Regions from separate parts of the Homo sapiens genome. Here all the other regions are linked to region 1. Evidence: promoter capture Hi-C in 16 types of primary human blood cells and fetal thymus (Javierre and others, 2016). All regions are on one chromosome and are shown on one strand. Each heading gives the region's core, a stretch centred on a gene start or on the middle of the fragment in contact. The rest is flanking DNA. Distances are from core to core; before and after follow the strand shown. Region 1 holds the start of HDAC11-AS1 (HDAC11 antisense RNA 1). Region 2 has its middle 6.6 kb from the start of WNT7A. Region 3 has its middle 43 kb from the start of IQSEC1. Region 4 overlaps IQSEC1 (IQ motif and Sec7 domain ArfGEF 1). Region 5 overlaps IQSEC1 (IQ motif and Sec7 domain ArfGEF 1). Region 6 overlaps LOC105376957 (a long non-coding RNA gene).

What was found. The method cuts DNA at HindIII sites, captures the fragments that hold promoters and counts their contacts. A CHiCAGO score of 5 or more calls a contact.
Region 2: a contact is called between a fragment that was not itself captured here and the fragment with the promoter of HDAC11-AS1 in region 1, in 1 of 17 cell types (naive CD4 T cells). The highest score is 6.3, in naive CD4 T cells.
Region 3: a contact is called between a fragment that was not itself captured here and the fragment with the promoter of HDAC11-AS1 in region 1, in 1 of 17 cell types (total B cells). The highest score is 5.1, in total B cells.
Region 4: a fragment that was not itself captured here is called in contact with the fragment with the promoter of HDAC11-AS1 in region 1 in 1 of 17 cell types (naive B cells); the score reaches 5.4 in naive B cells.
Region 5: a fragment that was not itself captured here is called in contact with the fragment with the promoter of HDAC11-AS1 in region 1 in 1 of 17 cell types (fetal thymus); the score reaches 5.2 in fetal thymus.
Region 6: a fragment that was not itself captured here is called in contact with the fragment with the promoter of HDAC11-AS1 in region 1 in 1 of 17 cell types (naive CD4 T cells); the score reaches 5.2 in naive CD4 T cells.

Annotation. Positions count from the first base shown.
Region 1 is chr3:13,476,594-13,481,488 of GRCh38, forward strand. It overlaps HDAC11-AS1 (HDAC11 antisense RNA 1), which reads right to left and starts at 3,460. Exons shown (of 2, transcript NR_046690.1): 1 at 3,050-3,460; 2 at 394-492. HDAC11 (histone deacetylase 11) reads left to right here and starts at 3,713. Exons shown (of 10, transcript NM_024827.4): 1 at 3,713-3,756; 2 at 4,653-4,801. The coding sequence starts at 3,755. RefSeq lists enhancers at 3,069-3,128, 3,778-4,434 and a silencer at 3,589-4,078. The HindIII fragment of the contact is 8,461 bases long and covers 1-4,895 here.
Region 2 is chr3:13,884,547-13,888,758 of GRCh38, forward strand. No RefSeq gene overlaps it. Among named protein-coding and RNA genes, the nearest start is that of WNT7A, 6.6 kb to the left of the region's middle. The HindIII fragment of the contact is 510 bases long and covers 1,558-2,067 here.
Region 3 is chr3:13,113,631-13,118,248 of GRCh38, forward strand. It overlaps a transcript of IQSEC1 not described here. Among named protein-coding and RNA genes, the nearest start is that of IQSEC1, 43 kb to the left of the region's middle. The HindIII fragment of the contact is 5,310 bases long and covers 385-4,618 here.
Region 4 is chr3:12,983,559-12,988,263 of GRCh38, forward strand. All of the region lies in intron 1 of IQSEC1 (IQ motif and Sec7 domain ArfGEF 1), which reads right to left. Among named protein-coding and RNA genes, the nearest start is that of IQSEC1, 88 kb to the right of the region's middle. The HindIII fragment of the contact is 7,589 bases long and covers 1-4,705 here.
Region 5 is chr3:13,041,719-13,046,370 of GRCh38, forward strand. All of the region lies in intron 1 of IQSEC1 (IQ motif and Sec7 domain ArfGEF 1), which reads right to left. Among named protein-coding and RNA genes, the nearest start is that of IQSEC1, 29 kb to the right of the region's middle. RefSeq lists enhancers at 25-620, 3,965-4,044, 4,485-4,652. The HindIII fragment of the contact is 403 bases long and covers 2,733-3,135 here.
Region 6 is chr3:13,899,553-13,904,009 of GRCh38, forward strand. It overlaps LOC105376957 (a long non-coding RNA gene), which reads left to right. Exons shown (of 3, transcript XR_001740602.3): 3 at 4,088-4,457. Among named protein-coding and RNA genes, the nearest start is that of WNT7A, 22 kb to the left of the region's middle. RefSeq lists a silencer at 4,440-4,457. The HindIII fragment of the contact is 1,161 bases long and covers 2,396-3,556 here.

The sequences.
Region 1 (4,895 bases), core at 2,210-4,709:
TCGATCCAGCCAATGGGAAGTGCCAGCAGGGCATCAGAGGCTGGGAGAAGAGCTAATTTGGGGTATTTTCCCCATGTACCCCTAGTTTTGGCAGTGACTGTGTGGCCTCAAACCTCCTCTCAGGCTTCCCCGTGGCCCATAACTAGCTATTCTCACTGGTTCCAGGAAACCACTCCCTCTCCTGGACCCTTCAGGTTTAGGGGTGAGAGCTCCCTCCCCTCTGTTGCCAACCCCAGGTGCTGCACCATCTCCTGTTGGTCCCCTCAACCTCACCCACATCTCAGGTAAATGGCCTGTTCATTAAACTTTTTTCAGAAATCCCTGTGGAGTGAGACCTCTCTTTCTTGCTGGGGCCCTCCTGGTGCATAGAGTTACATAGAAATACAACTTATATTTCCTTGAGAAAATATATTTTCTTATTTGAATGCAAGCTCCTTCTGGCCTCCGGGACTTTGAACCTGCAGTATCTTCTGGTTGTTTAAGAACTCATCTCTTCACCAATAAAACAAACAAAACATGTTTTACATATTTAGCTGAGCTTGGCACTCATTAAGGGCATAACAAATACTAGCTAGCATTACTGTTATTGTTACCGTTGTGTTAAATGTGTATGAAATCACAGGGTCTTGGAATGGAAATAGAGGTGCTCACTTGAATTGAAAGGGGCATGGTTTTAATGTTGTAATAGGATGTCTCAATCTAATATTAGTTAGTGTTTTGAAATATTGTATCTGTGCCAATAATTCATGTTTGGTGCATTTCTGTAATATCCTTTGCGTGCCTGTATTTTTCTTTTTTTGTGTGACAGTCTTGCTCTTGTTGCCCAGGCTGGAGCGCAGTAGCGTGATCTCAGCTCACTGCAACTTCCGCCCCTGGATTCAAGCTCCTCCTGCCTTGGCCTCCTGAGTAGCTGGGATTACAGGCACCTGCCACCACACCTGGCTAATTTTTGTACTTTTTAGTAGAGATGGGATTTCGCCATGTTGGCCAGGCTGGTCTTGACCTCCTGACCTCAGGTGATCCGCCCATCTTGGCCTCCCAAAGTGCTGGGATTACAGGCGTGAGCCACCGCGCCCAGCCGTGCCTGTATTTTTCAAAAGAAGTGTTATATTTGGGACTTTCTTATTTGTTTTAAGTTGAAATATATTTCAATATTGCATGAAAGGGGAAAAACAGTTAAGTATACAATGTTCAATAAGTCAGTGTCTTGTTTCATTAAATGCCATTTAAAAATAAAATACATATGGTTAAAAAGTGAAAAAATGTATTTCTTCAAAGGGGCCTTCCCTGACCACTGTCCAAATCAGGGACCCCATTATTCTCTCTCTCACAGTCTCAGCCTATGCCTTTCACAGCAGTTACCACATTTTGTAATCACAATTTTCCTTCCTAGGTTAAGGCTTGTCTCTCCCACTAAACTATTAGCTTGACAAAGGCTTTCTGAACTCATCTGCTCTGTGCAGCTGTGTCCCCAGTGCTGTGTCTTAGTGAGCAGACACACTAGGATACTGCAACAAAGAGGCCCCCAAACACAGCAGCGTGCATAACACTTATTTCTTCCCCACGTGATAATGCGGCCGGTTGGCCCAGGCTTTCATGGTGGTTTGAAGGTGTTCACAAGCTCCAGGGCCTCCGCAGACCACTTAACTCTTTAGCTACCAGGACACAATTTTAAAAACCCTTGGCCAGGCATTGTGACTCATGCCTGTAATCCCAACACTTTGGAAGGCCAAGGTGGGAGGATCGCTTGAGCCCAGGAGTTAGACACCAGCCTTAGCAATATAGTGAGGCTGTGTCTCTTAAAAAATAATTTAAAAATTAAAAAAATTTAAAAACCCACTTATTCAGACCAATCCCACTCTCTTTGGCCTCAGCTTCAGGTCCAGGCTGCCCAGATCCTCATTCTCCCAACCAGAGGATCATCTGTGTGGCTTCCCAAACTACAGAGCAAGTTCCCTGAGGGGAAGTCGGTCTCTCACAAATGCCACAGGGCCACTGCATGCACTCTGTCACTTTATAAAATAGTACTTATTCCTTCTGTGGTTTACATCTGCCCACATCCCTGACCTTTGAGTGAGTTACTTCACCATTCTGTGCCTCAATTTCTTTATCTATAAAATGGGGATGACAATAGTTTGCCTCCTAGGACTGTCAGAAGAGTTCGACAAGCAAAAAGCATTTGGACTTCAACTTAGCACATGACAGATGGTCTCTGAATAATAATCAACATTATTGTCTCTTGATTCCCTGGACTTGCCCATGAAATCCAGAGAATGAAGTGCAACCAGAACTTCATTTTCTTCCTTTTTTTTTTTTTTGAGATGGAGTCTCACTCTTGTCGCCCAGGCTGGATTGCAATGGCGCGGCCTCACCGCAACCTCCCCTCCCCGGTTCAAGCGATTCTCCTGCCCCAGCCTCCCGAGTAGCTGGGATTACAGGCGCCCTTCATCACGCCCAGCTAATTTTTTGTATTTTTAGTAGAGACGGGGTTTCACCATGTTGGTCAGGATGGTCTCGAACTCCTGACCTCAGGTGATTCACCCGCCTCGGCCTCCCAAAGTGCTGGGATTACAGGCGTGAGCCACCGCACCCGGCCCAGTACTTCATTTTCAGATGCAGACATGAAGGACCAGAAGGCTGAAGCAACCTGCCCAAAGCCACTATGCTGGCGGGTGGCCGAGTTTGGGTTTAATCCAGGCCCGAACCTCAGTTCCCTCAAGATAAAGTTGGGGTGATTATGGCACCTTTCTCAGGATTAGGTTGTGAGGCTCAGATGCCATCATGCAATCATGGCAGGCACACGGGGGCCCCTCTTCAAACGTCTGTGCGCTTCCCTTGTGCCCCGCCCTGGCACACAGCCGCCCCCGCGGAGCCCAGGGATCCCAGCCCGGCAGTCCTCCGTCAGCTGCTTCTGTTTGGATGGCGGGGACGGCTGGGCCGACAGAGAGGCCCATTGTCTCCGTCCTCTGGGGCTCTATTGTTGGGGCCTCCTCCTGGGTTGCAGCCCCACGGACAACCCCAGCTGTCGCTTGGGCCTGGCTCAGCTTACCCCGGCGGTGAGGGTGCGGGTCGGGGACGGAGACGCGTGCACCCTGAAGACAGTAACTAGGCCTGCTCTACAGAGGGAAACGCAGGCTCTGAGAGCCTACATGTCTTCGCCGGGAGTGCTTGTCCCGGAGCTGCTCGCAGACTGGGCCGGGGGTGGGCTCGGGTCGGAGAGGTCACGGGGCTCCTTAGGTCACAGGCGGCAGGGCCAGAGAAACTCCCCCGCCCCTACGTTTAACTCGCGGAAACAAGGGCCCAGAGAGCCCAGACGCCAGCCCAAGGTCACACAGCGAAGCCCCGGCACAGCCCGCCGGGAACCTGTCGTTTCTAACCCCCAGCCTCTCGCCGTTTCTACCCAGCTTGGGAAGCGCAGGAACAGGACATACGGTGGTCGCGCCCCTTCCGCGAGGCCGGGGTGAAACCCGCTTGGCCCTCCCGCCAGGGGGCGGAGCTTCCGAACCAGGCGGGATTCCACCGGGTATTTGCCTGCGGAGGCGGGACTTCGGGCTTGATGGGCGTTGGGGGTGGCCTTCCTGCGGGCAGGCTCTCTGTGTCGCAACACTGGCGGGGCGGGCCAAATCGGCCAGAGCTCTGCCCCCAGAGGACGCGGCTAAGCCCGGGGGCGTGTCCTGGGCTGGCCCCACCCGCGCCCCGCCCCGCCCCGCCCGGTCGCGGAGCTGCGGCCAGCTTTGGGAGGGCCGGCCCCGGGATGTGAGTGCCGCGGGGCGAGGGCGGGGGTGGGCTCCCAGGGGTCCCGGTGGGCGGGCGCGCTAGGGCGAGGGCGGGGACGGCCGGGCGGGCGCGCCAGGTAAGGGCCCAGATTTGCTGGTGAGGGGTGAGGGACGCTCGGGACGGGTGTTTCCAGGCCCTCCCGGCGCGCCAGGCCAGCCCCGCGCCCCTGCTCGGTGGCCCGAGGGACGCGCGCCGGCCGCGGGCCTGGGCCCGGACCCGGAGCGGTCGGGCGATGTGCGCGGGTCTGACGTCTGCGCTGCCCAGCCCCCTGGCTACGCGGACGCCCCCACGGAGGCAGCCACTGGGGCGGATTTCTGTCTCTGGGTGACGACTGCCAGGGTGTGATGGGAAGGGTTAGCAGCGCAGCGGGGTCAGGGGATCCCCGCCCCCCGCCCTGGCTCAGGTTGGGTCCCGACTTGGGTTTCTGAGTGCTTACTGTGCTCAGCTCCTCAGTTGCATTCTCTGAGTCCTCACAACAGCCACACATTTTGCAGCCGAAGCCTTGTGCCACACAGCTGTGGGGGCATTTATTACGGTGCAGAGGTGATGCGCGGAGGCCTTGCAGCCAGACACACCTGAGTGCACGCCTGCTTCTCCACAGACCTGCACTGTGACCTTGGGCACACCTGGTCTGCTCTCTGAGCCTCTGGTGCGATTGTGGTGCCTACCCCCAGGGCTGCTGTGAGGACTGGATTGGAATTGGGTTCCGGGAAAGGCAGCCAGTTTAAGCAGCTGTTGTTGAGGGGCCCTTGTCTGCGGCTGAGGGGCTAGTGGTGCTGGGCAATGGCTGGTGGGTCAGTCCAGGCGGGCTCGGGAGGGAGCTGCTTTCTGCCGAGGCTGCCCCAGCTGTGCGTCTGTCTTTTTCCACACGGTAGGCTACACACAACCCAGCTGTACCAGCATGTGCCAGAGACACGCTGGCCAATCGTGTACTCGCCGCGCTACAACATCACCTTCATGGGCCTGGAGAAGCTGCATCCCTTTGATGCCGGAAAATGGGGCAAAGTGATCAATTTCCTAAAAGGTATGGAAGGTCCCCCTTGGACTCTCATCTGCTTCCTCCAACCCACCTGTCCTCTCCGTCCTCATCCCCAACATAAGCCTCAGGCTCTCTCCCA
Region 2 (4,212 bases), core at 563-3,062, 410 kb after region 1:
TAGCATTTACAAAAAGAAATAGATCAGAAAATAACAGAGGGCATTATGCATAAGGTTCCAACTGTGTGTGTGCGTGTGTGTGTGTGTGTGTGTGTGTGTGTGTGTGTGTATTGGATGTGTATGTGTATACATTTTGGGTTAGGATTTTTTAAAAAGTTGAGAGACTACTACTGCAGCCTGTTTTCCTTTGCATATGTCTAGAATGCCTTTAGCTCTTTTCTACCTGGTAAACTTCTAACTTATCCTCCAAATCCCACCCAAATGTCAACTCATCTGAAAAGCCTTCCTTGATCTACATTACTCCTATCCTAGGCACTTGGTGTCTTCCTCATTCATTCAGTCATCAAACATTCGTTGAGGATTAAACTGTGCTGGGCCCTGGGCTGGGTTCACTGCTGGGGTACAGCAGTAAACACAATAGATATGATCTTCAAAGGGACCACCTTTTAATGCATCTCTTCCTCTGTGCTCTCACCCTTCTTGTGCTGATCTTGGCAGAGCCCTTCCCACCCCAAATGTTGTATGGCCTCACTCCCCTCCCTCCTCCATCAGGACATAATCTCCTTGTGGGAAAAACGCTGTATCCTTCATCTCTGTCTCCAGCACCCAGGACAGGGCTTTCATCAACATGAGGACCATGGTTTGGTAAAAAGAGTTCAGACTTTTGGGTCAGATAGGTCTGAGTTTGAATCCCAACTCTGAGACCTACTAGCTTCGTGATCCAGAACGGTTTATTTTTAACTTGTTTGGATTTCTGTGGGCCTAATAATGTTCAGGTAATTTAATCCTTCACCTGACTGGGAGCTCCTCCAAGGATTCATTCCAAAACCTGGAACCTAGTGTGAATAACGGTTTCATGACTGTTTCAATGGGACCCATTGCAGAAAGTTCTTCTTTGGCAGAGTCATGCTAGCCCAGAATTTTTCTCCCCATTTAGCTCCCTCTGCCTGGATTAAGAAGTGAGAAGGATACCTCTTCAGCAGGTACTGTTCCTCTTTAAGCCAAATCAACCATACCTGGGGCAGGTGCACAGTCAGCCAGGTGCTTTGTCGCCCCCTGCTGGATACAGAAGGAGATCAGCTTAGATCTCGGCCACAGCAATAATCTCTAAGGGATATGGAGTCCTGCTGTATACCAGACACTGCTGTCAGTGAGGGCTCTAGAGGTGTCCACATCCTGGCTCCACCGTTTATTATCTTTGTGACCTTGGAAAAGTTACTTAAATCCCTCGTTGCCTCAGTTTATCTGTAAACTGGGCACAGTAATGGTTTCTACCTCCTTGGGTAGTTTTGAGGTTTGAGATACTACAAGTAAAGTGCTTAGCACATTGCCAGGAACATAGCCAGTGCCGTGTACACGCTTGTAAATTAAATTAAGAGAGAGGCCACCGCCACCATTGGTGCTGCCACGGATCAAGAAAGGGTGTTTGTGTTTAAGGTGGTCTCTAACGGCGGGTCCCCCAGGGTGAGATTATAGAGACTTTCCACCTGTGTTTGGTCCCTCCGTTTTCTTCATTGATGCTTAGAAGAAAACTTCAGCAGCATAAACCATAGCCAAAGCTTTCAGTAAGTGTTTGGAGCTGCTGGGAGCCCTGTACTGGGAGCATTTTTTTTTTCTTTTCTTTTGAGACAGAGAGTCTCGCTCTGTCGCCCAGGCTGGAGTGCAGTGGCTCGATCTCGGCTCACTGCAAGCTCCTCCTGGGTTCACGCCATTCTCCTGCCTCAGCCTCCCGAGTAGCTGGGACTACAGGTGCCCGCCACCATGCCCAGCTAATTTTTTGTATTTTTAGTAGAGACGGGCTTTCACCATGTTAGCCAGGATGGTCTCCATCTCCTGACCTTGTGATCCGCCCATCTCGGCCTCCCAAAGTGCTGGGATTACAGGCGTGAGCCACTGCACCCAGCGGGAGCATCATTTTTGTTGAATGAATTGATGAAGGAAAGAAATACTCTCATGTGGGAAAGTTCTCAGAAGAAAATGAAATTCAGAGCTGTGACACAGAACAGCTCCGTGGGGAACCTCAGGTAGTGTGACCAGAGAAGGCTCTGAAGAGCTGAGAACTGAACAAGCTTCATTTTGCCTCCTCCAGAAGCCATCCCTGGCCAACTCCTCCAAAAGGATATTGACCTCCACAGCCTCTGTGCTAGCCCCTGTTCAAGCAGCCACCATAAACACCACAAACACCACAGCCTCATCTGTGTGTTTGTTTGCTCCCCATCCCCTGACATGGGCACCTCCAGAGGGCACCCAGAGCTGCACACCCAGTGATGATCACCAGACCCCGGGTAATCAGCCCGTGGAGAGCAGAGGAGCTGGAAAGAAGGAGAGGTGGGAAGGAGGTGGCAGAAGCCATTAGGGTGTCAATTGTAAAGGCCTGTAGCCTTCATCCTGTAGATGGGAAGGCACCCACATTGTCAGAGCAGGGCTGTTATCCAGTCCCATGTGGGTTTTCACCAGTGAGATCAGCCTCTATTATTTTGTGGCTATCCAGCATTCAACTCCTGTGACTGGCACCATGGTGTCTGCTTGGGGAGCCCCCCTCTGTGCGCCAGGCTGGTAGGAGGTTGTGCTGCCTCCGATGGAATCTCTTCTTCCTCCTTCTGCCTTGGAGCTGTTGGCCCCCAGGTCCTCTCTCCCAGGATTAGAGCAGGCAGGGCAAAAAGCTGGGGTCTGAAGACTACATTCCTACAGCTGGGGAGCAGCAGGAACACAGAGACCATCCATCTGCTCAAATAAGGAAACAGCCTCTCTCTTTGCACTGTGATAGCATGCACAATTTACTGAGGACCTAGTATGTGCCAGGCTGTCTGATGGATGCCTTATATTTCTTTGCTGCTGGCAGCACTTTTCCCAGATGGCTGTATGGTTCACCCATTACTTCATTCAAGCAGAATATCACCTCCCACATCGCTGCCCCATGGGGGTGACCCCTGAGTACCCTGCGCTTTCATGGCACTGTCTAGACCACCTCTTACTCTGGCTTTATTTATATGCCTAGAATGTATCAGCACCCCCCAACTTTACATTGTGTATTTGTTGACTTTTGTTTGTCTATCTTCCTCATTGCACTGTCTGCCCCACAAGTAGGAATATTTGTTACTTAACAGCTGCATTTCATAGAATGATGCCTGGAACATGGGCGGCCCTTGATGAATAATTGTTAGACACATGAATAATTGGATGATTCTCATGCACTCCTCATAAAAACCTCATTTTCCGGAAGAGAAAATTGAGATGTTGAGGGGTTAAGTTGCTTACCCAGCATCTAGCTGAGCGTCTAGCTGAGTGTCTGGCACTTATGTTAACACATGTCTCCATTCCCTTTTTGTCTTCTCCCACATCTCCTCACTCCTGCTAATAATAGGCTCCTTTGCACTGATTTCGCCTACATAGATTTCATCTCCATCCCAGCATTCCTAATACCCACTGCTATGCACGAGGTAGGCCTCACCCAGGCCAGTGATTCAGTGTTATCAAGGGGGCAGGAGTTGGGGGCAGAATGGGTAGGACCAGAGCATCCTGACTGGGAGGAGCTGGAACATGGGCCTTGGGGCTGGAAAATTGATGTCTCCCTCCCCCTGCTGCCAAAGTCCTATTGACTCCCTTGCTGAACCATCAATCTGTTTGTGAATCTGGGGGCCAAGATTGTGGAAGAGGCTGCAAAGAGACAATCCATCCTACAGGTGGGGAGACTGAGCCCCATTGCAGGCCCGAGAGGCTCCAAAGGCACATAGCCAGCTAGGGGCAGAGTTGGATATGAAATACTGCTAGGGCACTGGGGCAACACACCCAGCTTTGAGTCTCGGCTCAGCCTCTTGCTGTGTGACCTTAGGAAAATGGTGAACCTCCCTTAGCCTATTTCCGTATCTGTATGGAGATGATGATAATAATAATGCCATCTCATAGGTTACAGCAATCATATATATAACACATTCACATTTCACAGAGCAACTGGCACATAGCATGCACTCAACACATGATAGTTATTTGATGATGATGATTATGGCGATAAAGATGTGTATTGGAATCCAGCCCTCTAGGATCAGAGGAATCTTAAAGATGATCAGGGCCACTGTTTCTCAAACTACTATGTGCATCCAAATTACTTAGGTATGAAACAGATGCCCAGGTCCCCCTCAAGACCTCCCAAGTTGGACTTCCTGGCAGAGGTGGAGGGAAGTCTATCCCATCTCCACTGAGTAGTGGCCAACT
Region 3 (4,618 bases), core at 1,790-4,289, 360 kb before region 1:
ATGCGGCGGTGGGAATGTGAGGCAGTGGTGATGGTGTGAGGGGCCAAGAGCCTCCTACACTGTCGAGAACGGTCACCAGGGCAGCCCCCAGCGTGGGCCGCATGGCAGGGGCTACTCAAACGACAGGAGTGTGCCCGCACTCTGGCCAGGCCATCCCGTCTTGGTGGCTACAACACGGAACTGTTCACACGTGTGCCTAGCTGTTGGTGAAAGCGAAACAGTGGAAGCACCCCGATGGCCATCCATGGCGGACTGGCTAAAATGTGCTACAGTGCCTTTGCTAAGTTGCAGGTCACCAAATGACTCATGTCAAAACGTGCTGGGAGCACAGAGCCAACTGCAGAAGTCTCCACATACGATGAGACTCTGTTCACGAGAAAAGAAAGCTTACATGGGATACAGTAGGCTTAGCGTGTGCACACACTGTTGATGCAAATGCACAGAAGATTCTGGAAGGAAATGCTCCAGACATGACAGCAGACACCTGTGCTGAGGGGCCAGGCTGGGCCAGAAGTGACTTCAGCCTCATTTTGGCTTGAATGAGTCTGAAGGAGAACCCACGCATGTGCTGCTGATTACACCTGCAGGATGCGGGTGGGGATACAGAATTGGTGGTGTTTTTCTCGGGTGTGGCTCTCTAGGACAGTGTCCCTGTTCTCAGGGGATATATGCCCAAGAATTACAGGTGGGGTGTCACGGCACTCATGGCCTGCAGGTGGGCAAAAGGGGGACACAGGTGAATGTTCCCACAGGGAGAGAAGGACTGGCCACAGAAGATGTTAACAGGTGGGGGACCCAGGAAAAGTCTGTATAGGTATTTATTGTGTTGTTATTTCAAATTTTCCCTGGGTCTGACATTTTTTAAAATAAAAAAATATATGCCAGGTGCAGTGGCTCATGCCTGTAATCCCAACAATTTGGGAGGCAGAGGCAGGTGGATCACCTGAGGCCAGGAGTTCAATATCGGCCTGGGCAACATGGTGAAACCCTGTCTCTACTAAAAATACAAAAAATTAGCCTGGCATGGTGGTGGGTGCCCGTAATCCCAGCTACTCAGGAGGCTGAGGCAGGAGAATCACTTGAACACAGAAAGTGGAGGTCGCAGTGGACCAAGATCACGTCACTGCACTCCAGCCTGGGTGACAGAGTGAGACATCGTCTCAAAAAAAAAAAAAAAAAAGAATTACAAATATGTGACCTTGGAAGGACGATGGGTGACGGGTGCCAAAGAGAAGAGCCAAGCACTGTGAAGATTTGGAGAGGAGGTGGCATTTCAGCCAGTGCGGGAGCCGGTAGGGCCCATGCACGGTTCAGGAGAGGCTGAGCAGCCTGCGTGGGTGAGTGAGGCAGGACAAGCAGGAAGCCCCAGGCTGGGCAGTGTGGGGAGGCCCTGGAGGTGCCGGGCAGGGGGGCTGTGGGGGCTGGAAGCTCAGGTGCGGCCTTGAATGTAGAGCCATGGAATGTGGATTTCCTTCTAGCGGCCACAGGGAGCCACAGATGGGTTGTGAGCTGAGGAGCGCCATGGCTGAGTGAGCAATGTAACGCCCAGGGAGTCTGGCTCTTCCCTACCTGGTCCTGGCCTGATTTAATGCATCCCTTTCCCCCATCTGGAGCTCATTTCCCCCGCTTCCCTCCCCCGTTCCTCTAGCCAAGTCCTCTCCCCTCTCACTCTGGGGCGTCCTGCCTGGCCAGGTGCTCTGAGGAGCTCAGTTTCAGGATGAGGGCCTGGCCAGAAGTGGTACTGAGTTGCTGTGTCCCTCTGGGGTCTGGGCCCCCATGATGTCTCTTGACAGGTGTTCCTGTCCCCATTCCCTCAGCCTGGCCCTCTTAGCAAAGTCCTGGTGCTGCTGGTCTGCATGAGCCCCCTGATTTAGCCTTGCACTTTACCATGGTGGCCATGGATGAGTCTTCCCACCTCTTGCCCTATTTCCTCACTAGTAGAGCAGGAACAAGAATACGTTGTCTCACTGCAGAGTCACTCGAGAGGGGCACACACTGGCACCTGGGCTCAGGCTGTCAGAACGTTCTGGCCCCTGTCACTTGTCTCTGGCCCTGGCAGGCCCAAGGCTGGGCGCCTGAAGTGGGCACTCACCAGACCCTCTCCGGGCGCTGAATGCACGCTAGCCCATTTCACAGGCGAGCTAGGCACTGTTACTGAGGGCAGATGCCTACTCCATATCTACCCTTGAACAGAAAAACACTCTCTCCTTTGGCCCTGAGCCCCCAGTGGACCCCTCCCACTGCATGGCTACCTGCCTGGACCTGCTCCCCACCTTCCCATTCTCCAGCAACCAAAAGGTTAGCATCGGAAGCATCAGGGAGCCCCCAGAATGCTATGAAAGTTTAACCAATTCCCTGCAATTACGCCCCCTCAGTTTTTCCTTCAGCCAAATCAGCAGGAAAGAAGGGTCCCTTAGGATCCCTCAGGCAATGAAGAAGGGTCCCATAGGACTTTAACCTTGTTGCTACTTTATCCCTGGAGGGTGAGCCAGGCAGAGGCGCGTGGAAGTCCTCCCAGCTCCCTGAGGGCAGTCACTCCAGTGCTGACTAGGTGCCTGTGTGCCAGGCCAGGTGCTGGCTGCGGGAAACTCAGGGCCCAGGGGCAGCCGATGGGGCCGTGCAGGTAGGAGCTATATGTGGGGGCCAGATGGTGTTTCTGGCTTTGCGATCCTGATGTTCTCTGTCACAACTACTCTGACTCTGCCCATTCTCTCTAGAAAGCAGCCACAGACAATATATAAATGAATGGGTGTGGCTGTGTTTTAATAAAACCCAACTTACCAAAACAGACAGACTAGAATAGAGAGCCCAGAAATAAACCCTCGCATATACAGTCAAATGATTTTCAGCAGGGTGCCAAGAACATACAATGGGGAAAGGACAGTCTCTTCACCAAATGGTGCTGTGATAACTGCACATCCACATGCAAAAGATGCAAAAGAATGAAGCTGGACCCTTCCATGACACTATACACAAAAGCTGACTCCCGGCCGGGCGCAGTGCCTCACGCCTGTAATCTCAGCACTTCGGGAGGCCAAGGTGGGTGGATCGTTTGAGATCAGGAGTTCAAGACCAGCCTGGCCAACATGGTGAAACCGTCTCTACTAAAAATACAAAAATTAGCCAGGTGGTAGTGGCAACAGAGTGAGGTCCTGTCTCAAAAAAACAAAAACAAAAACAAATAAACAAACAAAAAAACTGACTCCCAATGGGCCAAAGACCTAAGTGTAAGAGCTAGGACAATAAAACCCACAGAAGAAAACACAGTGGTAAATCCTCATGACATCGGATTTGGCAATGATTTCTTAGATGGCACCACAGGCATAGGCGACAAATGAAAAAATGGATAAATTGGGCTTCATCAAAACTAAAAACTTTTGTGATTTAAAGAACACTATGAAGAAAAGTGGAAAGACAATTCCAAGAATGGGAAATATTTGCAAATCACATATCTGATAAGGATCTAGTATCCAGAGGATATAAAGAAGTGTCACAACTCAACAACCAAAAGATAAGCAACTCGATTAAATCATGAATAGACCTTTCTACAAAAAAGATACACAAATGGCCCATAGGCACATGAGATGATGTTCAACATCACCAGTCATCAGAGAAAGCAAATCAAAACCACAATGAGATACCACCTAACAGGTCATTAGAAAAAAAAAAAAAACGGCCAGATGCAGTGGCTCACGACTGTAATCCCAGCACTTTGGGAGGCGGAGGCGGGCGGATCACGAGGTCAGGAGATCGAGATCATCCTGGCCAACATGGTGAAACCCCGTCTCTACTAAAAATACGAAAAATTAACCGGGCGTGGTGGCGTGCTACCAGGGAGCCTGAGGCAGGGGAATCGCATGAACCCGGGAGGCAGAGGTTGCAGTGAGCCGAGATCACGCCACTGCACTCCAGCCTGGTGACAGAGCAAGACTCCGTCTCAAAAAAAAAAAAAAAAAAAAAAAAAAAAAAGCCACGGCTGGGTGCAGTGGCTGATGCCTATAATCCCAGCACTCTGAGAGGCCAAGGCAGGTGGATCACAAGGACAGGAGTTCGAGACCAGCCTGGCCAATATGGTGAAACCCCATCTCTACTGAAAATACAAAAATTAGCCGGGCGTGGTAGAGTGCACCTGTAGTCCCAGGTACTCAGGAGGCTGAGGCAGGAGAATCACTTGAACCCGGGAGGCAGAGGTTGCAGTGAGCCAAGATCACACCACTGCACTCCAGCCTAGCTGACAGAGTGAGACGCTGTCTCAAAAACTAACAAACAACACATAAGTATCGGTGAGGTATTTGCAAATCACATATCTGATAAGGATCTAGTATCCTTATCAGAGAAACCGGGCCCCCTGTGCACTGCTGGTGGGAGTGTAAAATGCTGCAGCCACTGTGGAATACAGTAAGTATGGTGGCTGTAGGTAGTGTTTGCTACAGTTAATCATAACGTATAGTTTCAAATAGCGAGAAGGAGGCTATTGAATGTCTCCAACACAAAGAAATGACCGATGAGATGATGGCTGTGCTAACCACCCTGGTCTGATCACCAGGAATTATATATATCCAAACATCATGATGTAATCCATGAATATGTACAGTTATTATGTGTCCATTTAAAAACT
Region 4 (4,705 bases), core at 1,239-3,738, 490 kb before region 1:
CAGCCTTGAGCAGGGTGCCCAGAGGGGGTGCTGAGCCAGCCCCTGGAGCCCACTCAGCCCCGATTCCACCTTCTTGGCTCAGCTCCTTCAGGGACGCCTGGGCTGACCTCACAGGCCACGCTGGGCAATTCCTCCCAGCACCTGGGCGATGCTGTTCAGAGGACAATTTCCCTTTCCCTCTCCCCTCTGGACAGCTCCGTGAGGATAAGAATAAGGTTGTCCGACATACCCCACTTATGCCCAGCCTCAGCACGGCGCCTGGCACAACTAGCTGCTGGATAAATATTTGTGGATGAAATGAATATGCCCAGCTCATGTATGTCCCTGTCCCCAAATCCACATGCCTTTAAAAATAAAGCACCTACCTTCAAGGGGGCAGGCAGAGAGGTAAGGGCCTTTCATACGTGGGTTCTGGGGGATAGTAACATGGTAAACAGATGGTCTGCACAGAGCTGTCCTGACCCAAGGTACAGAGTGCCAGAAACAGCTGGAACTGAGATAGGGACCCAGGCCTTCTCTAAGTCAGGCCATCCTCCAGCCCCCAAGGTCAGGTCCATGGTCCAGTTCTCTCTGAAATTCACCAGGCTGGGTCTAACTCAAGCCGCTCCCATGGATCGGGGAAGGTGTTTGGAGTTTCCTTTCCCCTGGGGTTACCAGCAGAGTCCCTGGAGGGAGATTCTAGACAACTGAGCACAGGAGGACCACGGGGAGATAGGGAGGAGACCCCATGCCTTTGCTAGCGAGCATACTCAAGTCTAGTTTCACCATCCACATGTAGGGCCCCTGAGTAAATTTGTAAAAGGCGCCCTCTTCTGGTGGATACAGCCCCACAGGCCCAGGGCTGAGCTAACAAGAATGCCATTAGAGTGCAGTTGTTCCTCTGCCAACTGCCCTCATGCAGTGCACAACCTGAGTATCTGTACATTTGGGAGTGCCTGGAGTTCTGCCCCACAGGGTGACAGTGACTCTGGGTACCTGCCACCCTCCCAAGACCAACAGTGAATGCTGCTCCTCCTTTCAGGGGGCTGGGAAGCCTAAGGGCCATGCATGCACGACCTGTAGCCACATGGAACCACCTGCTGCCTTCCTGGGGAAAGATAAAGCCCCACCCCTCAGCCCCCTAGGAGATTTACATGGACAAAGATAAGTCGCTTACAGGTCCAGAAGTCACAAGATCAAGAGAAAACATGTTAGCCAGACTTAGCACTGCCTTCAGCTTCCTCCCAGTGCACTATTAACACTTTTAAAGCAATTACATTTTTTTTTTTTTTTTTTTTTTTTTTTGAGACGGAGTCTCACTCTTTCGCCCAAGCTGGACTGCAGTGGCGCTATCCCGGCTCACTGCAAGCTCCGCCTCTTGGGTTCATGCCATTCTCCTGCCTCAGCCTCCCGAGTAGCTGGGATTACAGGCGCCCACCACCACGCCCGGCTAATTTTTTGTATTTTTAGTAGAGACAGGGTTTCACCGTGTTAGCCAGGATGGTCTCGATCTCCTGACCTCGTGATCCGCCCACCTCGGCCTCCCAAAGTGCTGGGATTACAGGCGTGAGCCACCGCGCCCAGCCGCAATTACATTTTTAAGTAGTCAAATTTTTAAGGCAATCAAGACTGCATCCCTACATCACAGGCTTTAGCCCAAGTGGGCTGGGTGAGGTATGGCTTGCTTGGGTCTTGAAGGGGGCACACCCTCAGCCCTCTCACTGAGGCTGCCATACACGCTGGGCTCCCACACTGAGTCAGGAGCCCAGAGAGGGCCAGGGCTGCCTCAAGGTCACCCAATGGCCAGCTGGCAGTCAGGCTGGGCCCGAGTCAGGTCCCCAGGCCCCGCCCTTGCTCTAGATCCAGATCTGCTGGAGCCTGGGGGTGGGAGAGCTGGTCTCCAACTTGGGCCTTCACTGGGCACAGAGACACCGTTCTTTACTGCTTAACAATCCCCCCCCCCCCGCCAACCGTTTGCCCTGTGCCAGGCTGCAGCTTTCCTTAAGTCCTGCTGACAAGGAAAATCTGGTGCCAGCACCCACAAATATGTGTGACTTCTGGAGGGAGGCAGCAGCCTGGGTTCCCCAGGCCAGAGTGGGCGGATTTAAAGGACGGGTGGCAGAGTGGGGGGGGTCACTGGATAGGGGAGGACCAAACTGCCCAAGTATGTCTGGGATGGAGGGTGATAAACGTTTATATGTTTTTGACCAGATACCTGAAAAATACTTTCCATGTTTCTAGGGGGGCACATACATAGTCTTCACTGCATATTCTTTTATAATGTTTAAGATTTTCATCATGGGCCTGTATTTCCTAAGCAAATATTAAATTCATAGATCTAAACCCATACATAAATGGCCCAGGCAGAAAAGAAAGAGACAGGAGCTCAGAATTTCAGAAGATGAAGGGACCCCAGATACTGACCTTCTCTGTAAAAATGAAAGCTAGGGTTGACTGAGTGCCCATGGGCCTTGCCTGTTGGGCCATGTTTTGAAAGCCCTTCTTTACCATCTCATTTCAGCCTGAGCGACCTGAGGAGGGAGATGCTATTACTGACATCTTCCATGCTACAAACGAGGAAATGGAGCAAGGTCACCGCAGGCTGGACCCCTGCGCCCAGGTCACACCCACTGGCCAAGGCTGACAGCATGCTACAGGGAAGGCTACGTCACAGGCTGGGCTGGGAGCTGGGCTGGGACCTGAGGCTCTGGCTCCTGCTCTTTGTCCCGACTTTTTCCCCAGAGGCCTAGAGTTCCCTGGAGCCCCAGGTAACAGCAGCCCTGCGCCAGAGGCAATGTGCCTTGTCAGACAACTGAGAGTTCCCCGGGGGCCAGGAGCAGAGCCTGCAGCTTCCTTGGGGTCACACAGGCAGACTACTGAGATGCAGGTGGCCATCCTCAGCCCCTCTGTGAGCCTCAGTTTCCTCATCTATGAAACAGGTGAATCTTTCCTACCTTGGAAGGCAGGAGTAACGATGGCCCAAGATGAGGTATCTGACACACAGAGGTGCTCAGCACGCACTCATTCCCTTCCCCTCTCCCCTGCCTGGTGAACCCGAGAGTGGGAGGTCGGTCCTCTACTGGCTGCGTCCTGCCAGGCCAGGCATGGGGCACCGCCTGGGGAAAGGCACCAGGGTCTAGGGGGCAGGCTAACGGCTGGCAGTGACCCTCCCACCCAGAGGCACATACTAGGCACTGAAGAGGACGAGGAGCTGGGACGAGAACCAGGCTGGCAGGGTGCCTGTGCGCATATGTGAGCTCATGTGTGCTCCCCACAGGGGACCGAGACCCGGCAGGGGCTTGCTGTGGGCTGTGGCATCTCCCAGATCTCAGCTGCCCCAACAGACCAAGATAGAAGGAGCTTGGGAGGGGACATTTTATTTTCCAGCTAGAGATACTAATAGTGGGGCTGGCCCATCCCACCCTTCCCTTACCTTGGTCCAGTGCTGTGGGTGGGGGCCTCCTGCCACAAACAGCCGCAGCCTGGCTGGCTTCTCAGGCCTCCTCTGCTGCCCACACAGATGAGCTCCCTCAGCCGTCCCCCATCTGGTGCTGCGGCCAGTGCGGGTCATAAACCCTGAGCCCCTGCTTAATCCGCCAGCTCCCGAGTCAGCGCCAGCCAGACACGTGACACTGCAGCCCCACAGACCTGTTTGGCAGGAGCAGCAGCTGGTCCTGCTGGGGGCGGGGAGGGCTGTCCGCCTTGCCCTCGCCCTGTCCCTACCACCTCCCAGCCCACAGCCTGCAGTTGGGCCACTGCCTGCCTTGTAGCGAGAGGTATGGTACGTGCTGGGGGCAGTGCAGGTAGGGAAAAGAACACGGTTCTCACCAAATGGTGCCGGGCCACCTGGGAATGGGTATATGTGTGCACCTGGGGCCGTGCATGTGCACACATGTGCATGTGTCAGAGAGAGAGAGAGAGACCGTAGATGAAAATCTATTCCAGGTGGATTAAAGACCTAATGTGAAAGGTGAATAACGAGAATCTTCATGATTACAGGGTAGGAATGAGTTTCTCAAAACACGAAAAATGTTAATAAAGTGAGAAAGTTGACTACTTGAATTAAGAATTCTGAAATTGAGAAGTTTATCCCAACACCCTGTAAAGAGTGAAAAAGGCAGGCAGGAGGGAGGGAGAAGAGGTCTACAATGTGGATAACTGACGAAGGATTAGAATCTGTAGCACCCAAAGAAGCCTCCAAATCGTAAAGAAATAAAAAGACAGCCCAAGATGGGTGAAAGGCATGAACAGGCACTCCACCAATGATGAAATCCAAACAGCCAATGGACAAACAAAAGATCCCCAACCTCATCGGGGAGATGCAAATTCAAACCACAGCAAGAAACCATTACCCACCCACCAGGTGAGTGAAAACGACAAAGACCGACAATGCCCAGTGTGGGGTTGGGGCAAGGCTGTATGCTTGCTTTACAGCCAGTATGTGCCCCAGAGACAGCTCATGCCATGTGTGCTGGGACACAGGTTCAAGAGCAACAGCCCCAAACTGAAAACAACCCATGTGGTCCATCACAGTAGACTGCATACATAAGCTGTGGCCTGTCGATACAATGAAATACTATTTATTTAAAAGGACAGCTGGGCGCGGTGGCTCACGCCTGTAATCCCAGCACTTTGGGAGGCCGAGGCAGGTGGATCACTTGAGGTCAGGAGTTTGAGACTAGCTTGGCTAACATGGCAAAACCCCATCTCTACTAAAAATACAAAA
Region 5 (4,652 bases), core at 1,684-4,183, 440 kb before region 1:
GGAGCAGTCCCCAAATCCATGTCATCAAATCCGAATCCCTACAGTTGGGAAACAGGCTTAAAGAGGGAAAGTGACTCGCCCAAGATCGCGCAGCCAGGAAAGGGACTGAACTTCGGGCTCCTGATCTCCTGACCAGGGGACCCCCAACTCTGCCTCCCCAAACTTGTGCTTAGGGAGGAGGCAGGCCAACCCTTGAGTCATCCAGCCCACGAGGTCGGAGCAAGTGTACCGGGAAAGAGCAGGCCGGGGACCCCGGGCCGGTGCAGCTTCCCTGCCTAGGGCTCACCCCGGCAGCAAGGAACAATGAAACACAGTGCCTGGCCACAGAGCAGTCCAGGGTGACTCTTTCTCTGCAGAAACTCTACCAGTTTCAGGCCAGAGGGAGAGGAAAGAATAGTTAAGCCCAGTTGCAAAGTGAACCACGACAAACGCTGCTGCTGGTCTTGGCCAGTGACGGGGACCCTCCGCCAAGAGGAGGAAGCCCTGCAATCGGGCAGGATCAGGGCGAACTTTCTCTCCAGGTCCCATTGCCCTAGTGGCCAAGGCTCTCCCCAGAGGGTCGACTTACCTTTTGTAGGCTCCATGCAGGGGCTGTAGGCACAGGAACTGCCAGTAATCCAGGCAAAAGGCCTTGAACTTGAGCATTTTCACCTTTTGGTCTCCAGCTGGACCACGGTAACGTCTCCGCGGAGACACGGAGAGGGGCTAGTGGGAGGTGGAGAACCGGCTGCTTCGGCCCGCCCTGGTCCCTGCCACGGCGGCCCCCACTCACATGGCCCAGCCCGCCCGGCGCAGCTTGTACAGTACACGCCTCCAATACAAAGAGCAGCCAGCACAAAAGCCTAGCAACTCATTCACGCAGCTCGCCTGGCCCGGCTCATGCTGCTGCTGTCTCTGTTAGCTGGTGCCTCCGAGGGCTTCCCTGGGGGTCCCTGGGACACACCAAGGCAGCTCTGGCTGTATCAAGTTGTGGGGGCCCCCAGTCCATCATCCTGGGGGGTCTGGATGCTAGGGCTCCTGACGGTGGCTCTGCAAGTCTGTTCTTCCAACCAGGCCCTGGGGCTCCGGGTGGTGGGGCCGGCACTGGCTGGACAGTCCTACACCCGCCTGGCTGGCCCAGAGTGGCTGAGGCCAGGAAGACCCAGGGAGAGCAGGTAGGGAGGGGGCCAGATGACAGGCAAACACTGGCCTCTTTTGCCAGATAAATTACGTTTGGCGGAATCCCTGTTCGGCCTGTGCGAGGGAAAACTCACCATGTAGCCACATGGTGCTTGGGGTGGGGGCAGCTGGGCTCTGAAAGGCAGGCGAAGGAAGACTGACAGGGTCGCCCAGCGCCTGCCGTTGCCTGGGCGACGGGGACACATTGATAAAATCTAAAATGGAACCGCTATGACAGCCGCTCATTGGCTGCCGGCAGGGGAATCCTGTCGCTAACCAGGGAGGGGAGCGGCTGAGCTGCAGGGCCACAGACAACCAGGCGCATTGTTGGGCAGAGGGACCCCAGGCAGAATGGGTGGCCCCACAGGCCAGGGGACCTGGCAGTCACAGACAATAGGAAAGGAGTCCCTGGCCCACCCTCACCTCTCCCCTTGTATCTCCTGGGATCTGGCTGGTCCCGGCGTCTGCTCCAACCCTCCCATGGCCCATTTCCCACACACTAGCCACCTGAAAGTCTGAGGCTCTGGGTCCCAGATACAGTAGCCACCCTCACCCCCATGAATCCGGCACACCCTTTGGTTCCATGCAGTCTGCTCTCGGGTGCACTTCCTGCAGCTCCGCTCCTCCTCGTCAGTCAGGTCCCACTCCAGCACCCCTCGTGTCTAAGCTATAGCAGCTCAGCCCCCTTCAGCCACTACCCTGTCTGATTCTTTCCATGGGACATCCCATCCTCTGAAAGGATCCTGCTTTTGCATGTTTACTTGTTAACTGTCTTTCTCCTGACTACAAGCAACGACTCCAGGGCAGGGGCCACATCTCTTTTAAGGGCCGGCCCACTGGAGGAGCCTCGATAATCATTTGTGGAAGGAAGGAAGGATCTTGTATAGTGTGTGAAAGGCTCTCAGAGGCACCACACTCACCCCCTCTGGCCGCTTTGGGGCCCAGGTTTGCACAACCCGACATCGTTTGCAAAGCAGTGGTCACACTCCATTCAGACGAGGAGGTCTTGCTACCTCCCCACTCCCCCTCAGATGAGGAAACAGAGGCACAGAGAAGACCCCATCCCCAGAGGTGTGCACACAGAGTCCAGGAGCTGCTGCTCAGGGGGGTGACATCCAGGCGGTCGGATGGGAGCTGGTGCCACAAAAAAGACAAGGCTCTGTGTGCCTCTAGCAAGGCTGCTCAGCTTCCAAGGGCCAGGCTGGGAACCAGAGGCCTGATCTCACCCCATGCAAAGCCAAAGAACAAAGTCTCCCACCTCAGGTGGCATTTTCTCAGTGTCATTAGCAAAAATGCTGCTTCTAGAGCAATGGTTCTCAACCAGAGGCGTCTGGGTCATCCCCCCACCCCCAGGGACATCTGGTAATATCTGGAGAAATTTTGGTTGTCACAAATGGGGAGAGAGTGCCAGCATCCAGTGGCATTTAGATGTCACTAAACACCTTACCATGCACAGGACAGCCCCCACACCAGAGAATGGTCCTGCCCAAAATGTCAGTAGTGCCAAGGTTGGGAGACCCTGTCTGTAGTCACTTTCCCTTGGAGGTACCCGTCCTGGATGGCTGGAAAGGGAAAGCTTTCCAAATGGCTGGGTCCAAGCCTCTTATAATACAGTCGGGGAGTGCGAGGCCAGAGGTAAAGGGGGACACCCAGTGTCATCGGAATGGACCCAGGCTGGACGCAAGACACCCCAACTTGGGCTGATAACTGGGGGCAGGCAGGGGAGAGGCGATCTGCCGAGTGTGATGAGCCTGTTTGGCAAGGTAGCACAGGCGGGGCCAGCAGCCCTGAAGTGCTGCCCACTCCTCCCCCGCCCCCCCACACTCCTGGAGAAGGACATTAGCTTCCCTCTCACGCCTGTGGCAGAGGAAGCCGGCTGTGCCTTTGAAAGGCAGCAATTACTGGCTGGGACCTTTGTTTCTGAATTCCTAGGCTGTGCACAGGCCTCCAGAACCTCCGAAGGCTGGGATTCTCAGAAGCTTGCCCCCAGCAGCAGAGCTGGTGCCTCCACTGCACAAAAAGGGCACAGAGTTCTGGTAGCAGCGGGGGCCCTGGGCCCTAGTCCTGGACCTGGCACCAATGCTCTTCTGGTCTCAGGTACCCTCATCTGTGAAAGGGGAACATTGATCCTGGCCCTGTCTGTGTCTGAGGCTGCTGTGAGGGTTGGGAGTCAGGACGCATGCCAAGGCAAGATGGCAGGATGGGGCAGGCCCCACTTAGCATCTGCCTCCTGGCCACTCCTCCAGGCATGCTCCACCCCAGGGCCTCTGCACCGCTGTTCCCACCAGACTGTTGGGATGCTCCTCACCCCTCCTGTGCTTCCAGGCCCAGAGGCCTTCCCTGGCCACCCTCCCATCTCTGTCTATTCCCTTCACCTGGATTTATTTTCTCCATAGCTCTTGTCACCACTTGACACGTTATGTTAAAAACCAGTTTCTTTTTCTGCTTGCTGCCTGTGCTCCTGCCTGCCACAGATGCTCTGTGAAGGCAGCAGGACTGCTCAACGAGGGATCCTGAGTGCCCGACACCCGCAGGTGCTCAGGAAATGTGGCTGAATGCAGGCGGGGAAACAGCAGAGCTGAGGGGCTCCTACGGCCTCCGCTCTGATCCCTGCTCTGTCCTCCAGGGAGTGAGGCACTGGGGCATTGGCTCTGAGGTCAAGTGTGGCTCCATCCGATGGAGGGCTGTGCAGTGAGACCCAAGTGGGCAGGAGCACGGAACCTGCTAGGCCCCCACACATCCTAGAACAAAGAGCCCCATCCACACTCCCTGCATACCAGAACTTTCCTGGGCTGGCCTCGAGCAGGGCACCTGACTGACTGGCCGGCGGAGTGGACAATTCAGATGGAGCTGCAGTGGCGCCCGTGGCATGGGTGGGTGGTGCAGAGGCCAGGCTCAGCCCCTACAGGAGCCTCCTCAGCCTCCTTCCCTGGGGCCACCCTGACACAGGAACCCACACGCCTGCTGGCACCCTGAGCCATCCCATCAGGGGTGAGAGTGTGTGTACCAGTGTGAGCCCGCAAGCACATATGTGTCAAAATGGGGGCTGTGTGTTCACCCATGTGCAAAAGTGACAATGCTAGCATTTGACTACAGGAAGAACTGGGTGTGGGAATGTTCTGGAGTCTGTGTGTATACGTGTGTGCGTGTGAGATTATGCAATGGGCATATGAGGAACTACTAGTATGAGGGCAGGGAGTGTGCTACGGTGTTGGGCAGTATTCACACCAGGATACCCAAATGTTCAAATCCCGGCTCTGCCCCCGCAGTCTCGAATCCTGAGCAGGTGACGTCTGTGGAGTGGGCTAACAATAGCCCTGACTCGCTGGGCCATAAGGGCTGTCAGCTTTCACAAAGCAAAGGAAGTACTGTTATGATGATATGTGGGTGTGACTGTGGAGTGTCCGTGCAGAGGATCAGGTGACTGCGTGAGCGTGTCGCTCATGTGTGTACACGTGTGTACCACTTGGCTGTGTCCTCCAGGAGCGCACGCG
Region 6 (4,457 bases), core at 1,726-4,225, 420 kb after region 1:
TGGAGAGGTCTGCAAGCCACAGGAGAAGACAGGGAAGTAGATCTACATTTGGGAGGCATAGGCATGTGGACAATATTGAATGCCAGGAAGAGGGTGCAGATAGAGAAGCATGGAGAGCCTTTCTGTGAGTCCTGGGGCACATCAATATCTAGAGATGGAGCAGAGGAGAAGTCTATGACAGAGATAGAAAAGAACATCCAGTTAGGTAGATGGAAAACGAGGTAAATGTAATGACATGGATATCTGAGAAGAGATGATTTCAAGAAGAAAGGTGGGGCCACCTTGCATTGAAGACCACTAAGAAAGTGAGCAGGAGAGTGACTAAGAGGGAACCATTAGTTTTGGCACCATGAATGTTACTTGAGGCTCTCAGTGGAACCAGTGTCCTTTCCTTCAGATGCAGGAAACAGAAGCCAGTTGGATGCATTCTGGGAGAATAGGAGTTGAGGAAATGGAGGCAACAACCATAGATAGATACTTTTTATGACTAAAGAGAATGAGATGAAAGGATACCCACCCAGGGTATTAACACTGGTGGGCTCTGAGATATGGGATCAGGCTCATTCAGGAAAGTCTGTATATTGTTCTCATTTGTGGCCACTGAACTCTCTGTTTTGCTACCATGCAAATCAGCTATGAATTGGAGATATATTTTTTTAAAGTATAGAACTAAGACTCTTGGACTGCTGAGGGGCACTGTGTGTGTGTGTGTGTGTGTGTGTGTGTGTGTGTGTGTCTAGGCATGCTCTCAACACTTGGAGAGGCAGTTCATGACCCTGTCTTAGATTTTACTTCTGGCTCGTGCAGAGCTTCCTGGACAGCCTCAGGTGAGAACCTAGGGCCTTGTCATGTCTTTCCTAGCATACTTATAGTCCTGAGTATGCATGCTATTCCTATGCATGCTTAAAGCCCCCCATGGACACTTTGTTCCCTGGATTTTACTTTTTAAAAGCTTTTTTGGTTAGCTTGTTATTTGATCCACTCTTATCACTACCTCAGGCAGCTGCAGTATTAAACACTTGCCATTGATGATTTTTGATGAATGCCTGTGGAGAAAAGGCCTTTCACACTGCAGGAAATCTGAGTGAGGTAAAATAAAGAGAAGACCTTTGAGTGGCGCTTTCTTAGGAAGCTCCAGATTAAATAAGGACAGTTGTCTAGGATTGGGGTGTTGGATGTTTCAACCTGTTCTTCCTCTCCAGTAGCTGCTAGGTTGCAGATTTTAACTATGATTACTGATTTTTGATTTTCAAAGGTGCTGTGCAGTTGGGATAAAGTGAGTAAGAATAGAGCAATTTATATGCCAAAAGAAATGCTGTCCTTACCAATATTCAGCCATTTTCTTGAATAAATGCTCTCTGGATTATTATAAGATTTTGGTTAATTTCTAGAGTTCTGAAAGACTTGATTTCAATAATTATTGCCTGTGTTCCCATTGCTTTTATGGAGTAGGGGAGTTTTGGAGGTCCTTATTCTGCCATTCCCTTCTGACATCACTCTAGCTGCTATTTCTAGTAACTCCGTTTCCTGTCCAGTCCTCTTTGTGCTTACTCTCTGTTCTATATACTTTCTCTTTCATCTTTTCATCTTCCTTCTGATTATTTTATTGGCTTTCTGCATAATGCAAGATCATGTTTGAAATTACTCAAATGTTATCTTCCCTGAATTGTTTATTTCTGCACCAGTTGTCTTACAATGAGTACTTTTTCAGCTAGGGAAGAGGTCATTTGCAATTGAGCTCTCAATAGTTCTAGAAGGTGAGACATGAAACATACAATAGGACAATTCTGAACAAGGGTATTCCTAAGTTGACTGAAAGAATATTCACAAGGAAAAGCTCTTTGTAAAATTTATTTCAAAAGGAGGGGAGGGAGACTTGAAGCTAGGTACATTCATCTTCAATAAAGCATTGACTGTGGAGAAAGGAAATGAATATAGTAAAATTGGAAGCCAGTTTTTATCTGAGCTCAAAGCTAATTCCTCCAAGGAAAGCAGCATCTCATAGTTATTTGAGGGCATTTGAAGTGTAATTTTGATACAGTTGAGAGAAACTGTGCTAGCAAGAAATATTATAAACATAAAAATGTGGGAAATTATTAGTTCAACCTATGCATGTGTAAAACTTTTTTTAATATAATAATGTGGGACAACTTTCAGTTATAACAAACTTCATAAGACATCAAGAGGTTCATAGTGTAGAGGTTCCTATAAGTGTAATAAATGTAGGAAGGCCTTCACTAGAAAATTCCACTTCATTGTGCATAGAGAAGTCATACTGGAGAGAATTTTTATGATTTTAATTAAAGTAAAAAGCCACAGTACCAGGGGTTAAAATTCTTTAGCCACCCAAAATTTGTAGAAATGATAATCCTAATCAATATAACAAATATGGCAAAGCTTTCTTCAGTGGATAATACTTTATTGTATATCAGAAGAATCACACAGGAGGGGAAATTAGATTCCTATAGCTGCCAAAACAGATAAGCACAAATTGGGTGGCTTAAAACAACAGGAGTTTATTCTCTCACAGCTTAAGAGGCCAGAAGTCAGAAATAAAGGGATTTGGGAAGTTTGTTCCTTCTGGAGGCTCTCAAGAAGAAACTGTTCTATGCCCTTCTCCTAGATTCTGCTGGTTGCCAGTAATTTTTGGCATTGCTTGATGTGTAGCTATATCACTCCAGTCTCCATCCTCACATGGCTTTCTTCTCTGTGTGTGTCTCTGTCTCTTCTACTCTTCTTGTAAGGAAACCAGTCATCATATTTAGGGCATATCCTAATTTCAGTATGACTTTATCTTCAATAATTACATCTGAAAAGACCCCATTCCAAATAAAGTTACATTCCAAGATTCTGGGTGGATGTGAATTTTGAGGGGGAGGTGGACACTATTCAACCCACTACAAACCCCGTGAATGTAGTAAATGTGAGAAACCTTGTACCTGTAGCTCAGTTTCTGTACAACAATAGTAAGAAGTCCTTTGAATGCTAGCAATGTGGGCAGTTCTTTAACTATAAATCATCCTTCATTAGTATTGGAGAATTCATACTGGAGAGAATACAGTATAAACTGTAATTAGTGTGGAAATACTTTTCAAAATAACTTCTCTTTTACTAATGTAAAAACTCCTAATACTCCTAAATCTCATTAATATAGTCAATGTATTAAATTATTTAGATACCTCATTAACCACAGAGAATGCACATTGAAGAGAAACCTCATGATTATGTCACAGAGCCTTTAGCTATAAAGACCTCATTTAGAGAGCAAATAATTTACACTGGAGAAAACATTATCAATTTATTACATTCATCAGAATGTATAAGAGTTCATTAATTACTTGGCATGTAAAGACTCATGCACGTGGATAAACAACATGTGAGAACTCATACAGGTGAAAAGCCAGTTTGGGAAAATCACCTGGAAAAGAAACTTTGTAAATCACTAAATTCATCCTGAGTACATACTGAATTATTCTATTAATTTGGAAAATTTGGAATTCATGTAAACATATTCTAATAAATTGATATTATCAGATACCAAAAAGAAAAACTTATAAGCTTTAAGATTCTTCAGTATAGTGTTTATAATTTTTTGCATAATTTAAATTAATTCAGGTAGCAGAATAAAAATTCAAATACACTGGAAAGGAATAGGAATATGATAGGGTATGATTCAGAGTCCCTACTCTCGTAGTACCTTACTTTTATTTTTTAAACCAACAAGTTAGAAGGGAAACCTATTTATGAGGGTCATGTACCATATTTTATCAAATCAAACTTGTAATGAACTGTGAGATATGCCATTATTTTGTGTACCACTAAGACTTAAAAAACCTCCTAGACTATGGTATTTCATTGATTATAAGATGCATCATGATTCAGAGGTGTTGAAATGTGGGGGTATAAGTGAACCCTACAATGGAGTCTCTAAGCCATATGATAATTCAGTAATATTTCATTAGGTAGAGGGAAAAATGCATTGGATTTGAGCCCAAATTAACAAAATCTAATCTTTTCCTCTCTACCAAAAATCTTGTGCTGAAATAGTAATTGCACTTATTTCTGTAATATTTTGCTTTCTTTTCAGAAATCTTTTTTGGTATTTCAGCATGTGTATGGATGGTATACTAAGAATTGATCACATTTGGTTGTTGAGGGGCCAGGATGGCTGATTGGAAGTAGCTGCAGTCTGTGGCACTCACAGAGAGGAATGAAAGGAGCAAGTGAATTCAGCACCTTCAATTGAGATATTCGGGTTCTCATATTGGGACTGACTAAGCAAATAGCTTGACCCACAGAGAATGAAAAGAAGTGGGGTGGGGTGATGACCCACTTGGGAGCAGCACCAAGCCAAGGGAACCCCCACCCCCAGCCAAGGGAAGTGGTGAGTCAATGCGTGACCCTTCCCCAGAAATTACACTCATCCCATGGATCTCTGCAAGCTGTGGATCAGGAGA